Linked DNA regions of Homo sapiens: all the other regions are linked to region 1. Evidence: promoter capture Hi-C in 16 types of primary human blood cells and fetal thymus (Javierre and others, 2016). All regions are on one chromosome and are shown on one strand. The core of a region is centred on a gene start or on the middle of the fragment in contact, and the rest is flanking DNA. Distances in the headings are between cores, read along the strand shown. Region 1 holds the start of PRKACG (protein kinase cAMP-activated catalytic subunit gamma). Region 2 has its middle 35 kb from the start of PIP5K1B. Region 3 has its middle 15 kb from the start of PIP5K1B. Region 4 overlaps PIP5K1B (phosphatidylinositol-4-phosphate 5-kinase type 1 beta). Region 5 overlaps PIP5K1B (phosphatidylinositol-4-phosphate 5-kinase type 1 beta).

The links. The method cuts DNA at HindIII sites, captures the fragments that hold promoters and counts their contacts. A CHiCAGO score of 5 or more calls a contact.
Region 2: a fragment that was not itself captured here is called in contact with the fragment with the promoter of PRKACG in region 1 in 12 of 17 cell types (M1 macrophages, megakaryocytes, M0 macrophages and 9 more); the score reaches 14.3 in M1 macrophages.
Region 3: a fragment that was not itself captured here is called in contact with the fragment with the promoter of PRKACG in region 1 in 10 of 17 cell types (erythroblasts, megakaryocytes, M1 macrophages and 7 more); the score reaches 16.8 in erythroblasts.
Region 4: a contact is called between a fragment that was not itself captured here and the fragment with the promoter of PRKACG in region 1, in 8 of 17 cell types (erythroblasts, megakaryocytes, monocytes and 5 more). The highest score is 17.5, in erythroblasts.
Region 5: a fragment that was not itself captured here is called in contact with the fragment with the promoter of PRKACG in region 1 in 12 of 17 cell types (erythroblasts, megakaryocytes, M1 macrophages and 9 more); the score reaches 11.8 in erythroblasts.

The regions. Positions count from the first base shown.
Region 1 is chr9:69,012,826-69,015,406 of GRCh38, reverse strand. PRKACG (protein kinase cAMP-activated catalytic subunit gamma) reads left to right here and starts at 1,294. Exons shown (of 1, transcript NM_002732.4): 1 at 1,294-2,581. The coding sequence starts at 1,315. The coding sequence ends at 2,370. The HindIII fragment of the contact is 8,295 bases long and covers 1-2,581 here.
Region 2 is chr9:68,669,082-68,671,662 of GRCh38, reverse strand. No RefSeq gene overlaps it. Among named protein-coding and RNA genes, the nearest start is that of PIP5K1B, 35 kb to the left of the region's middle. RefSeq lists an enhancer at 2,030-2,581. The HindIII fragment of the contact is 425 bases long and covers 1,080-1,504 here.
Region 3 is chr9:68,689,119-68,691,699 of GRCh38, reverse strand. No RefSeq gene overlaps it. Among named protein-coding and RNA genes, the nearest start is that of PIP5K1B, 15 kb to the left of the region's middle. The HindIII fragment of the contact is 2,312 bases long and covers 143-2,454 here.
Region 4 is chr9:68,708,155-68,710,735 of GRCh38, reverse strand. The region is part of intron 1 of PIP5K1B (phosphatidylinositol-4-phosphate 5-kinase type 1 beta); the gene reads right to left. Among named protein-coding and RNA genes, the nearest start is that of PIP5K1B, 4.2 kb to the right of the region's middle. The HindIII fragment of the contact is 4,887 bases long and covers 1-2,581 here.
Region 5 is chr9:68,743,311-68,745,891 of GRCh38, reverse strand. The region is part of intron 2 of PIP5K1B (phosphatidylinositol-4-phosphate 5-kinase type 1 beta); the gene reads right to left. Among named protein-coding and RNA genes, the nearest start is that of PABIR1, 35 kb to the left of the region's middle. RefSeq lists a silencer at 1,669-1,863. The HindIII fragment of the contact is 165 bases long and covers 1,228-1,392 here.

The DNA of each region.
Region 1 (2,581 bases), core at 45-2,544:
ATATACATTCTTCTCAAGTGCATATGGGCCATCTACCAAGATAGATCATATTCTGGGCCATAAAATGAGCCCCAAGAAGTGTAAAACATTTTAGGTCACACAGAGTATGTTTTCTAACAATGGAATTAAATCAGAAATCAATAGGAAAATTCTTGAAAAATCCCCAAGTATTTGGAAACGAAATAATATACTTTTAAATAGCTTATCTGTCAAAGAAGATGAAAAGGGAGCTTAGAAAATATTTTGAGCTGGATGAAAAGGAAAATACAACATACCAAAATTTGTGGGATGCTGCAAAAAATAATACTTAGGAGGAAATTTATAGCACTAAGTGATTGTAATAGAAGAAAGATTTCAAATCAGTGACCTTAGTTCCCACCTTAGGAAATAAGAGCAATTAAACCCAAAGCAAACAGAAGAAAGGAAATCATATGTATGTGTTAAAATAAAACATTACATGCAGTAAAACTGAATTTTGGGGGGAAGTATACAGTTCTTTGAGGTGTTTGTTTGTTTGTTTGTTTGTTTTTGAGATGGAGTTTCACTCTTATTGCCCAGGCTGGTGTGCAGTGGCACGATCTCTGCTCACTGCAACCTCTGCCTCCCAGGTTCAAGCAATTCTCCTGCCTCAGCCTCCCGAGTAGCTGGGATTACAGGCATGCGCCACCACGCCTGGCTAATTTTTTTGTATTTTTAGTAGAGACGGGGTTTCACTATGGTGGTCAGGCTGGTTTCGAACTCCTGACCTTGTGATCCGCCCGCCTCGGCCTCCCAAAGTGTTGGGATTACAGGCTTTAGCCACTGCGCCCGGCCAGTTCTATGAGTTTTAAAACAAATGTAGACCACCACCCAATACATTGTAACCACCAGCACAATCAGGATACAAACATGTCCCACCACTTCCCACATTCCCTCAGGCTGTCCCTTCATAGTCCAACCGTCCCCTAACCCCAAGCCCTGGCAATCACTGATCTGTTCTCTCACACTATAGTTTTGCCTTTTCTGGAATGTCATAGAAATGGATTCATACAGTAAGTCTCCTTTAGAGTTGGCTTCTCTCACTTGCATAATGCCTTTTGGATTTATCCATATTGTTGAGTGCAGCGGCGTGATCTTGGCTCACTGAAGCCTTGACCTCCCAGGCTCAAGAAATCCTCCCATCTCAGCCTCCCATGTAGCTGGGAATATAAGCGGAGGCCGGGCGGGGGTCGCAGCGCCGCAGCCAGCGCAGCCAGCCCCAGGGGGCGCCATCTCCGCCGCTGCCGCCGCCGCCGCCGCCGCCGCGAGACCCCCGCCCCTGCCGCCGCCACCGCCATGGGCAACGCCCCCGCCAAGAAGGACACCGAGCAGGAGGAGAGCGTGAACGAGTTCCTAGCCAAAGCCAGAGGAGATTTCCTCTACAGATGGGGAAACCCCGCTCAAAACACCGCCAGCTCGGATCAGTTCGAACGGCTCAGGACGCTGGGCATGGGCTCCTTCGGGCGGGTGATGCTGGTGAGGCACCAGGAGACCGGCGGCCACTACGCCATGAAGATCCTCAACAAGCAGAAGGTGGTGAAGATGAAGCAGGTCGAGCACATACTGAACGAGAAGCGCATCCTGCAGGCGATCGACTTTCCGTTCCTCGTCAAGCTCCAGTTCTCCTTTAAGGACAACTCCTACCTGTACCTGGTGATGGAGTACGTGCCGGGTGGGGAGATGTTCTCCCGCCTACAGCGCGTCGGAAGGTTTAGCGAGCCCCATGCCTGTTTCTATGCCGCCCAGGTCGTCCTGGCCGTCCAGTACCTACACTCGCTCGACCTCATCCACCGCGACCTGAAGCCCGAGAATCTCCTCATCGACCAGCAGGGCTACCTGCAGGTGACGGACTTCGGTTTCGCCAAGCGCGTGAAGGGCCGCACTTGGACCTTGTGCGGGACCCCAGAGTACCTGGCCCCCGAGATCATCCTGAGCAAAGGCTACAACAAGGCCGTGGACTGGTGGGCCCTAGGGGTGCTCATCTATGAGATGGCCGTGGGCTTCCCACCCTTCTACGCCGACCAGCCCATCCAGATCTACGAGAAGATCGTCTCTGGGAGGGTGCGGTTTCCCTCCAAACTCAGCTCTGACCTCAAGCATCTGCTGCGGAGCCTGCTGCAGGTGGACCTCACCAAGCGCTTCGGAAACCTCAGGAACGGGGTTGGCGACATCAAGAACCACAAGTGGTTCGCCACAACCAGCTGGATCGCCATCTATGAGAAGAAGGTGGAAGCTCCCTTCATCCCGAAGTACACAGGCCCTGGGGATGCCAGTAACTTTGACGACTACGAGGAGGAAGAGCTCCGGATCTCCATCAATGAGAAGTGTGCCAAGGAGTTTTCTGAGTTTTAGGGGTGTGCTTGTGCCCCTGTGGGTTTTCTTTCCTTTTTGTTTTTGGTGGTTTGGGGGATGGGAGGGTTGGATTGAACAGCCAGAGGGCCCCAGAGTTCCTTGTATCTAATTTCATCCTCACCCCACCCTCCAGGGTTGGGGGAGCAGGAAGCCCAGATATTTGGAGGAACAGAAACACCAGCTGCTCCCTCACCCCCCCCCATGCCTTCCT
Region 2 (2,581 bases), core at 43-2,542, 340 kb after region 1:
ACATAGAAATGGTAAAGTTTATGGTGATGGATCTCCTAAACATCCTGAAGTAGAAGTACACATTCTACGCATGTGACACAATGTCACATGTACCCCATAAATATGTACAAAACCCAAACCAACAAACAAAAAAATAATCACAAAGGGCCTGAGATTTCATAATAGCTACTGGAAAGCTAACAATTTAGCCAGCCAAGTTTCATGGATGCTGGTAGAAGGCATAGAACTCCTGGGTCAGAGACAAAGGACAGTTTTTAACTCACAGCAATGGTAGTAGCCAGAGTAGCAGCATTTTTGGGCCAGTTCTTCAAGTCCTGATGCCCCTGGGGTAATGTGGAGAGGGTCAAGTGACACCAGCACACACAGTAAGCTGCACTATAAGGAGAGGAATAGAGAGAACTTAGGACAGCCTCATGTTTTATAATGGATGGTAAACACGCTTCCCTTTTACTATCTCTAAACTCCAATGCTTGATGCTTCCTAGAAAGACATTACCTCTCTCTCTCAATGTGTTTACTATACAAAAATCCTTGAAAAGTTAGCCAAGAACAAAGATAGTCCATGCCTCCGCTCACAAGATATATGGAAACAAGAATCCCATGAAGAATGGTCTTTTGACACTGACAACCCAGGCTACATTGATGTTGCCTTCCTCTGTGTTTCTAAAACAGTATTTGTCTAGCTTGAGTGATGTGCAAAGCACTTCTGAGAAAACAAATTCTCATAGGCCTCCTAGGGTTCTCTTAAGCACTTATATTGTAATGTTATTTAAGTACAAGTAAGCCTAGGTGTATTCTCATTGTGCTCGTAGCTCTTACATACTAGAAAAAAGGGCAAGGAGTATAAATGCAAACCAAAACAAGAAAAGCAATCAATTTCATATTTACAATATTAAATTATTTTTACAGAAATTATTGCTTGGCTAAAACTAAATTGTCGATGTAGGCTTTAGTACTAAAAAGAAAACAAGTCCATATCTACATTTACCCTGCTCTTGTTTTTTTATTTCAACAATATCAGTGTGAATAATGCCTATTTGCAAAATATTTTGTACAAAACAGTATTAATAACAATAAGCTTTTGTTTGCTAATTCAGGGTTATTATACCTTATAGTTAACCTAAGTTAAAAAGCAATTTTAAAATAAACAAAGAAAAAAAGAAAAAAGAAAACAAAACAAAAAAGCAATTCTAATGTTACACTGCTTTATAGACTCTGAAAAGTTACATTCTCTTAAAATTTCTTAGCTTTACTGAATTACCAAATGTGTACTAAATGTGTTTGTCTAATTTAGTTATTGGTGGCATCAGCATATCTGGGTTCTTTTTTTCCTTGCAGATGTCAAAAACAAATTTCTAGTTTTATTAAAGAGTTGATAAGAATATTGACAGAATCCTGTACATATCAGAAATAGAATTTTATGAATAATTTGATCTTCAGTCAAGTTTTCTTTCTATCGCAGTCACTTTGACTTTACCTAGGATATTTAAACTCCTGTGAAAGCTTTGCTCATCCAGAGGAGTCCCATGTCCTTTGGCCATTCATTGGCTGTAGCACCTCATTTACACTTCACATCCACTAGAACAGTCGCAGCCGTATGTTACTGCTTGACCACAGTATGTTAGTGTAAATGATGGCAAATCTAAAAGTCTCAAGTTATTGAATAACATGAGAGACTAAAATATTACTATAGAAATAGGTTTTGTGATGGCAAATCATCACCAGACAGGATTTTGATATGAGGAGAGAGGTGGGCACAGCCTTCTTCCTGACAATTTGACATTGGAACATAGCTATCCATAATAATAGTGCTCAGACACTAAAAGTCAGTAAAAGTCAAAATCTCTAATTTGTGGAAATTGCTTAACAATTATACATACATAAATGTCATATGCAGAACATACTTAAATCACTTTTTGATTATCCTAATCAGAAAAAAATAACATTAGAAAATTTTTGTTGAGAATTGAGGATCCCCAAGAGTCTGTCCGAAGGCCCGCAGGAGTTCATGGACAAAGTCTGAGAAACCTGTTGCCAGGAAGCATCTTTGCCAGTGGTATGCGCCACGGGTCTTTTCATTTCTTACTTCCTTCCTAGCTATTTTCCATCTCCAGATTTTATTGCTTTTCTGTCTCTTAGAACTGACCTCCAACTCTTCACACAACAAACACACTGACCTTTCTCTCTTCCCTCTCAGTCACTTCCTGCGGCTTTCTCAGCCTAATGCAGCCCTCTTCCTCATGAGTGGCCATTCTTTTGGCATCTACCCAGGAGGCTTAACAACAGCGACTGTTTTCCTCAACTGGAGAGACACTTAGGCACAAAGACATCAAGGGCTTTGCCTGAATTCACTCCTCGGGCCAGGGATCAGGCCCACCTCTTCACCTCCTTTTACATATTTACTCCGATAGGCGGGTCCCCGCAGTCACGATTACACACAGTGAGCACCAGACCCTGCAAAAAGATAGCACCAATGAGGAGGGTCACAGTTCCTGCTACAACAGCTTTTGTTGTTGTTGTTGTGTTTATTGAGATCAGTGGTTTTTAAACATTTTTTTTTTAACAACTGTGGTAAAATACAC
Region 3 (2,581 bases), core at 49-2,548, 320 kb after region 1:
AGTGCTGAGTGAGGAGTGGTTGCTGTGTAGCAATTAATAATGTGGGTCCTAAGATTGTTGGTAAAACTCAATTGCAAAGCTGCCTTCAACTTTGTGTGGACTTAAGTGTGGGTAGCATTTTAGCAAAGAGGACCCCGAAGCTTTAAATTCTGCCTGTAGGATGCTGGCATGTCAGGTGCAGGAGATGTGAGTTAATGGTCTCAACTGTTCCAAGAGTAGCAGCTGCAACAAAAGCTCAGCCCTTTCCTCATACAGAAATGAGAGTGTGAAAGTAGTGGGTGGGATAAGAAGAGAATGAAACCACTGGAAAAAAAAAATGCCTTTTTCTGCTGCTCTCAAGAGTTCCCTGGAGAACCCAAAAAGGACAATCTTTGGTTTCATTGCAGACCTTTCTGCCTTTTGTTCCTTGAAGTCCCAGACATACTTTTTTCTGTTTCATGAACATGCCAAACTATTTTATGCTCAAGGTATTTAAACTTGCTGTTCCCTTTGCTGGGAAGGCTCTCAATCTGGGTCTTCCATGGCCATCTTTTTCCCTTTAAGTAAACCTTCGTTCCTACGTTGTCTTCTTCAATAGGACATTCCTGATCATTGCATTGAAAGATTTCCTGTAATAGCCTAACCTTCCCTCTAACACACACACACACACACACACACACACACACACACACACACACACACACACACAGACATCAGTTTTATTCAATGTATTGATACACATGAGTGAAAGGCTTAGAATAGCACATTATAAGTCTTCGGTATTATTAGGTATCATTTTTTCCATAATACCATTTTGTATCTAAATGTATCTTGTATATTTATATACTGATTTTCAATGGTTAGTCTACCCTTCTTTCTTATTAGCTCCCCAAGAGCAGGGACCTTGGCTGTTTTGTACATTTCCATATCTCTAGCACCGAGAATAAAGCCTGGTACTTGCTGGGTGCTCAATAACCATTGTTGAAAGGGTACATTAACTACAGAAAAAAGTATGACACCGGGAAAAAAAGGCTAAAAGATAATCACTGATAATGTTGGGTAGTGAGCTTCAGAGGTTTGTTTTCTTCTCTCTAGCTTTTCACATATTCCAAATTTTTACAAATAGCATGTGTTCTTTTTAATCCTAAAAGAGTTTAATTTTTGCAAAAAGACTTACGTTGGCATGCCATACAAAAATGTCAGTTGATAAATTTCTGCAGGCATGTTGCAGATTACAACCTTTGGATCTGTATACAACCACTTCTTAAATCAGAAGTCTGACGTTCTTCAGGAAGAACTCTCAGCATTATGTCTCTTGGTATAATAAATACAAATGCAGGCCCTACTGAAAGCCCCCTGGGGGGGGTCTGACAAGTCACATTCCATCAGCGGCCACGTACCATGTGACCAGCCACCCGCCTCTTTATCTCTAGCTCCTTAAGTCAGGAGTTTCATTTGGCTCCAGACCTTGGCACTACGAAGGTCAGCCAAGGTCGGGGCTCAAGTAAGAATGACTCACCCTGCTCTGTGCTCTCCACTGGGCACAGGCTGGAGCATGATGAATGCTGTGATTTTCCAGGCTCAACTCCCAGGAGGTGAGGTTCATTCCCTGAAACACTGGACCATGAAAGAAAACCCAGAGCATCCACCAAAGTGTTGTTTAGCATTTAGAAAACAAAAAAGAAGCCTCTACTGTCTGGTCCTATCCAGTGTAGTTCTGAATCAAAGTTGACCACCCAGTATAAACACCACTTTTTAGGCTTGTGCAAAGGGGGTTAATCATGATGCTTTTTAAAAAATAATGATTGTGCAAGATTGCACACACGCACCCAAGTATTAACAATAATACAATAAGCAATTACAATATCAGGGCCAGGTTTTATAAGATTTTTGTATGCCTGATTTACTTTGGAGTCTCTTGCCTTTAAAAACAAACAAACAAACAAACAAACAGAATATTATAGATACAGTAAAACTACTCCCAATTTCACTCCTTTCCTTCCTTCCCAGTGGCACTCAGTAACATAAAGTAACTTTATCATTCCTTTACATGTTTTTATATATCCATATATTCATAAACTTTGTTAAATTTTTTGCCCATTTTAAACCTTTATATAAGTGTTACCTTATCTTATGTATGATTTTGCAACTTTAATTGTTGTTCAGCATTACATTTATGAGATTTATCTTTGTGGATATATGAGATTTATCTTTGTGGATATATATGTGGATACATTTGCTAGTTTTACATGTCAGCGTGGCTAGATCAGTTAATCAGTTAAACACTAGGTGTTTCTGTGAAGGTATTTTGTAGGTGTGATTAAAGCCTGTAATCAATTGGATTTAAGTAAAGAAGATTAGCCTAGATAATCTGAATGGACTTCATTCAATTGGTTGAAAGGCATTAGAAAGGCAATTGAAAGGCATAGCCAAGGATTCCCTGGAGAAGAAGAGATCCCACCTGTGAACCAAGCTTCAGCTTAGGACTGATGGTTCCAGCCTGCCCTTCCTGACAGTCTCCCCTATGGATTTCAGACATGCCTAGCCAGCCTCCACAATCACACACAAGCCAGTTCCTTGGAATAAACCTCTTAATATATAT
Region 4 (2,581 bases), core at 41-2,540, 300 kb after region 1:
GTGCTAGTTTGTTTTAACTTAAAATGATAATACCAAGGCACTGTCAGCTTACTGAACATGCAACCTTGTCCCAATCACTCTGTTTCAAATCTTTCCAAGAGTAATCTAGTTTGGGCAGGATTCCTGTGTTTTCCTGTGTGATTATCTCCTTTATATACCTCTGATGAAGCGATACAGAAGTAAATACAATTGAGAATAGAATGTACAAAAGCAAGCCTGTTTTCCCTGACCTAATCTTATATATGAAAAGGAACCTGACTGAATACAATTCTCTGTCAATAGCAGCTGATTGTTTACGACACAGTACCCCAAAAATTTCATCATAAATTAAGTTTAAAGTTGATTTTTAAAAAGAAAAAAAATAAAACAGAAGCCTAGGTTTCCTCCCACCCCAGTTCTCTGGCACTCAGCAAAAAGTAACACATCCTGCTCTATTGATAAGACCACAAATGAACAGTAGAGCTACATAATGTACAGTTCTAACTGGCCAGCTTCTAAAAAAAAATGAAGGATTCCTTCCAACTCCCATTAATGCACTTGATACAAAGAGAACATGTTTCAGCAACAAATACATTTAGGACTTGATGTTTTACAGAATCTACTGAAGGCTCTGGCCATAGGGGGAAAAAAAAATTTCCAGGATATTAAATGTTCTGACTCACCATCTAACAGAAGTACAAGCAAAATGCAAATGCAAATTGAATGTATACATATTTATGACTTTACCAGCTGCATGACAAGGCTACCTTTGGCTTCTGGCTTTATATATCAGGAAGAGAAGTTGAGAATACCAGCATACATTTGTGTTTCTTTTCCTTTCTTTTCTGAGACAAGGCCTTGCTGTGTCACCCAGGCTAGAGTACAGTGGTGCGATCATAGCTCACTGCAACCTTGAACTCCTAGGCTCCAGTGATCCTCTCACTTCAGCCTCCCAAGTAGCTGGGACCACAGGCACGTGCCACCATACCCAGCTAATTTTTTATTTTTGCATAGATGGGGTCTTGCTATGTTGCCCAGGCTGGTCTCAAACTCCTGGGCTCAAGTGATTCGCCCACCTCGGCCTCCCATGGGATTACAGGTCTTTGGTTTCTATTTGAACAGTTTCCTCTCTCCCAGCACTGATTGGAGCAAAGTATTATTTCTGAGTCTGGTGATGCACATAAGCCAGAAGAATCATAGTGAATAGATAAAAACAAACATTTTGGCCGAGCACAGGGTCTCACACCTGTAATCCCAGCACTGTGGGAAGCCGATGCCTGTGGATTGCTTGAATCCACGAGTTACAGACCAGCCTAGGCAACATGGTGCAACCCTGTCTCTGCCAAAAATACAAAAATTAGCCAGGCATGGTAGTGCGTGCCTGTTGTTGCAGCTACTCAGGAAGTTGAGGTGGGAGGATTACCTGAGCCTGGGGAGGTTGAGGCTGGAGTTGGGCCACTGCACTCCAGCCTGGGAAACAGAATGAGACCTTGACTCAAAAAACAAAAAAAAAGTAAAGAGAAAAAAACATGTTATTTTTAATGGCATCTGCTTGGGCAAGAAAACTTAAACATATAAATGCTAAACCATTTTCAAATGTACTAACTCTCTAATAATGATAGTAAACAGAAGTTTTCTGTTAATCTCTATGATTTCTAAAAGTCAAAACTGTACCTTCACCATAGAACTCCTGGGACAAACTCAAATATGAACCTTCTTAAGAATTCCACATTGATCTTGGTCCTCCTGCTATCATCTTTGTGACCATAAGTAAGTCAATTCACCTAAGTTTTAGTTTTCTTACCCATAAACGGTACTTCTAAACTAATTAATATTTAAATTCTTTATCAGAAGGAAACATACATCAATCCCCAATGTAAATTGCAGATCCATTAATAATATTTAAGATCACTATATTCTTTCTTATCATTCTTCCAAACATAAAAACACTACTTGTCTGTATATAAAGAGGAGGAGTAGAAAGAGAAGATTGTTAAAAGGAACAGAAACTAGGTTGGTTTTGTTAACTAGGTTCCCCCTCTGAAACCACGAGACAGTATTAGCATCTCCTGAAATTTATTCAATACCCTGTTTTAAAAACAGAATGGTTGGTTTCCCCATGTCAAGACATACCCTTTCATAAAATGGGACAAGTCAATTTCTAGGAATGTATCTTTCAGCAGCTGTAATACTAACAACTAAAGGGGCGGGGGGGCGGCAAACAAAAGAGCATAACATAGATGACATGAGTCTACTGTCTAGGGAGAAAGAAAAGCTCTTCCCTATATGATGCCTTCAGAAAAGAGAGCAACAATGGGCTCTGTACCCGCCAGCTTCAGGAGGCACATGCCTGTAGGCAAATTATCTTATGTGTTGGGAATTTACATGGTAAGATGCTTTCTATGTTTTACAGCATATGTTTTCCTTATGAATGACTTCATTCACCCCCTTCATTAATTCAACAGCTATTTACTGAGCACTTACTTTATGCAAACCATAAAGCTAAAAAAAAAAAGTTATGAGCTTACAATTAGAATATTCAAGTAAGCCCTGACATGTACCTTACAGTACTTTAACCCCTCAGAATATTTTCAAGTCAAAC
Region 5 (2,581 bases), core at 61-2,560, 270 kb after region 1:
AGCTTGTATAATTTATTTGGAAACGTTATCATTTATAATATAAGATGTACTGTGAGGGAAATAAAGGGAATTGCGGTAACAGAAAACAGAAAATTAGGGGAGATCTACTTAGGTGGGGTTTGAACAAAGAAGTCTTTACTAAGGAAGGAACATTAAGGAATCCTAAAGGAACAGAAGGAGCTGGCAACACAGAGTGGGAGCAGGCAGCAGAGAGGGAGCTTCCTGGATGGAAGATTCAGGTGGAGCACAGGCCCTTGGAGCAGGATGGAGGGCAGGAGAGGAAGAGGCTGGAGTGAAGTGGACATTCCTGTCTACTCCCAGGAGCCTTTTCTATGCTGTGTGTCATGTGCATCTCCAAGAGCTAAGGATAAGCCCTGCTTCCCAAGAAAGTATTACAGAATGTCAAAATGGGATGTGTCAAACAAGCCGCTAAGATGGATGAGATACCAGGTTCCAAAGTGAAGTGCCAGGCCTAGATGCAGTTTTTCAAAGAACATAGCCCAAAACCTTTTTCACTGGTCTTAAACCTCTTACCTACGGTGTGGCTACAAGTAGGTCAGACTGCTTGTTGGTGGCTAAAAGGAGAGAATGATTGAAGCAAGCAGGCTGCAGTCCAGTCTGGTCCTAGCCTAAAGGACTAAGCTTAGGAAGAGATAAGAGTACCTGCCCCTCCCTGCTTCTCCCCCTTCCAGCCTCATGAGGGGGCTCAACAGGACTACCTGGAGAGCATGAGGCTCTTACGATGTGGAAGGCACTGTGACCTTGTTTGGGACTTCTGCCTAAGAAATCTGAAGAACTGGAGAGCTGGCTGGATGCTGACGGACAAGCCAAAGGAAACGACAGTTGCCCTGGGAGCAGCCTGCCCTCTCCCAGTTGGTGGGAACAAAGGAAGTGTGAGTGTTTCCCATGGACCACACCATGAGCATATGTACAGGGCTATATATTAGGGTCTTCCCAACAAGGGCCACCTGGACAGCAATAGAACCCAGCAGACAGGAGTACGAATGGATTGGTGGGCTTTCTAGAGACTGTGGAAACAGTCTGCAATTAGGCTGAAGAGAGTGCAGCAGCCCCACCAAGGAAATTGGAGGTGAGAGGCCCCCAGAGACAAGGTGAGAGGGTATCTCCAAAGAACCCACAAAAGGGCCCCACAAGAGAAAGAATCAACTCTAAACACCCACAACACAAAAAGAGCTCTCCTATGATACCGCCTGCCTAGTAAAAGCTTTCCTACACTCCTTCCTGTTCCCCACCCAGCCCCTCACCCCAGTCCAGAAGTCATAGCTACTGAGTAAGCAAGAGAAAAAGCCTCCAACCACAGCCCCCTCTCCCTGCAACAGGCCCTAGCCAGGGGAAGGGGAGCAGTTATAAATATGAATGAAGCTGGAAGCTTTAACTATCCCATGATACTAGACATTTTAAATATCTGGCAAATTAAAGTGGGGCTTTTTATTATATATGAGGAATCAGAATAGCCACGTGATATGTTTTCATCCAAAAAACAGGGGAAATGCTTTCCACTGAATAAATTTTAATGGGAGAGTGGGAGACTTGATGAAGTTGTTTTTTCGTGGCCTCCCATGAAACCTATTTGTTCAAGGCAGATTATACATAGAACCCCATTGTGTTAGCACATCTCGTGGAAAATGTACTTTCCAAAAATGAGGCCCAGCATGCCCCAGCTTGAGGATGAAGATCACTGTGGTTTGTGGGTCCACCTTGTAACATTGTCCATCCTTGGCCAGGCCATGCAGAGCCTTCAGTATCTATGGCAACTGAGGCTACGGACCTCCTGCATACATCAGTGGTTCTCGTTCTTACACCTTCCTCCTTTTCCAGGAAGACAAATGTGTTTCAGGAAGGAATCCCTATCACCAAGAACCCCCACTAAGCTCAGCCCTGATCCTCCTGAAACAAGCTCTGATTGAGTTCCCAATATTGTGCTTTATGAGTCTTCTTCTTAGATGTCACCCTAACAGGATTCCCGGTACATTCATCTGGCACCCAGTTGAGAAGGCCAGAGCCTCAACCCATACTCAGCAGGAAACCCAAGGAGAATCAATAGAAGGACAGGGGCCTCTTTAACTCCACCCATTCAATCTCCCATTGTCTTAGTGTCATGAAAAGCAAATCTTAACATGCAGGGCAGTAAAACATGACACAGAACTCATCTTCAATAAACTGGCACTTTGGTTAAGCAAATGTGAAAAGTCAACAGCCACAGCATCCTTATATGCCAGTGGGTTTTGGCAAATCAACATACACTGACCAAGTCTTTCTGATATTGGAAATATTGCTTACCAAATCTACACCATGTGAAAGGGATTTCTCCTCACACATATGCAGTGTTCTTATGAAAGCTCATTCAAAACTGACATTAAAAGACATTTTGGGCCAAGCCTGCCTCGTGCCTGTAATCCCAACAGTTTGGGAGGCTGAGGCAGGATGATCACTTGAGCCCAGGAGTTTGAAACCAGACTGGGCACATAGCGAAACCCCAACTTTATACTGGAATAAAAAATTAGCCAGGCATGGTGGCATGGAAATGTAGTCCCAGCTACTCAGGAGGCTGAGGCAGGAG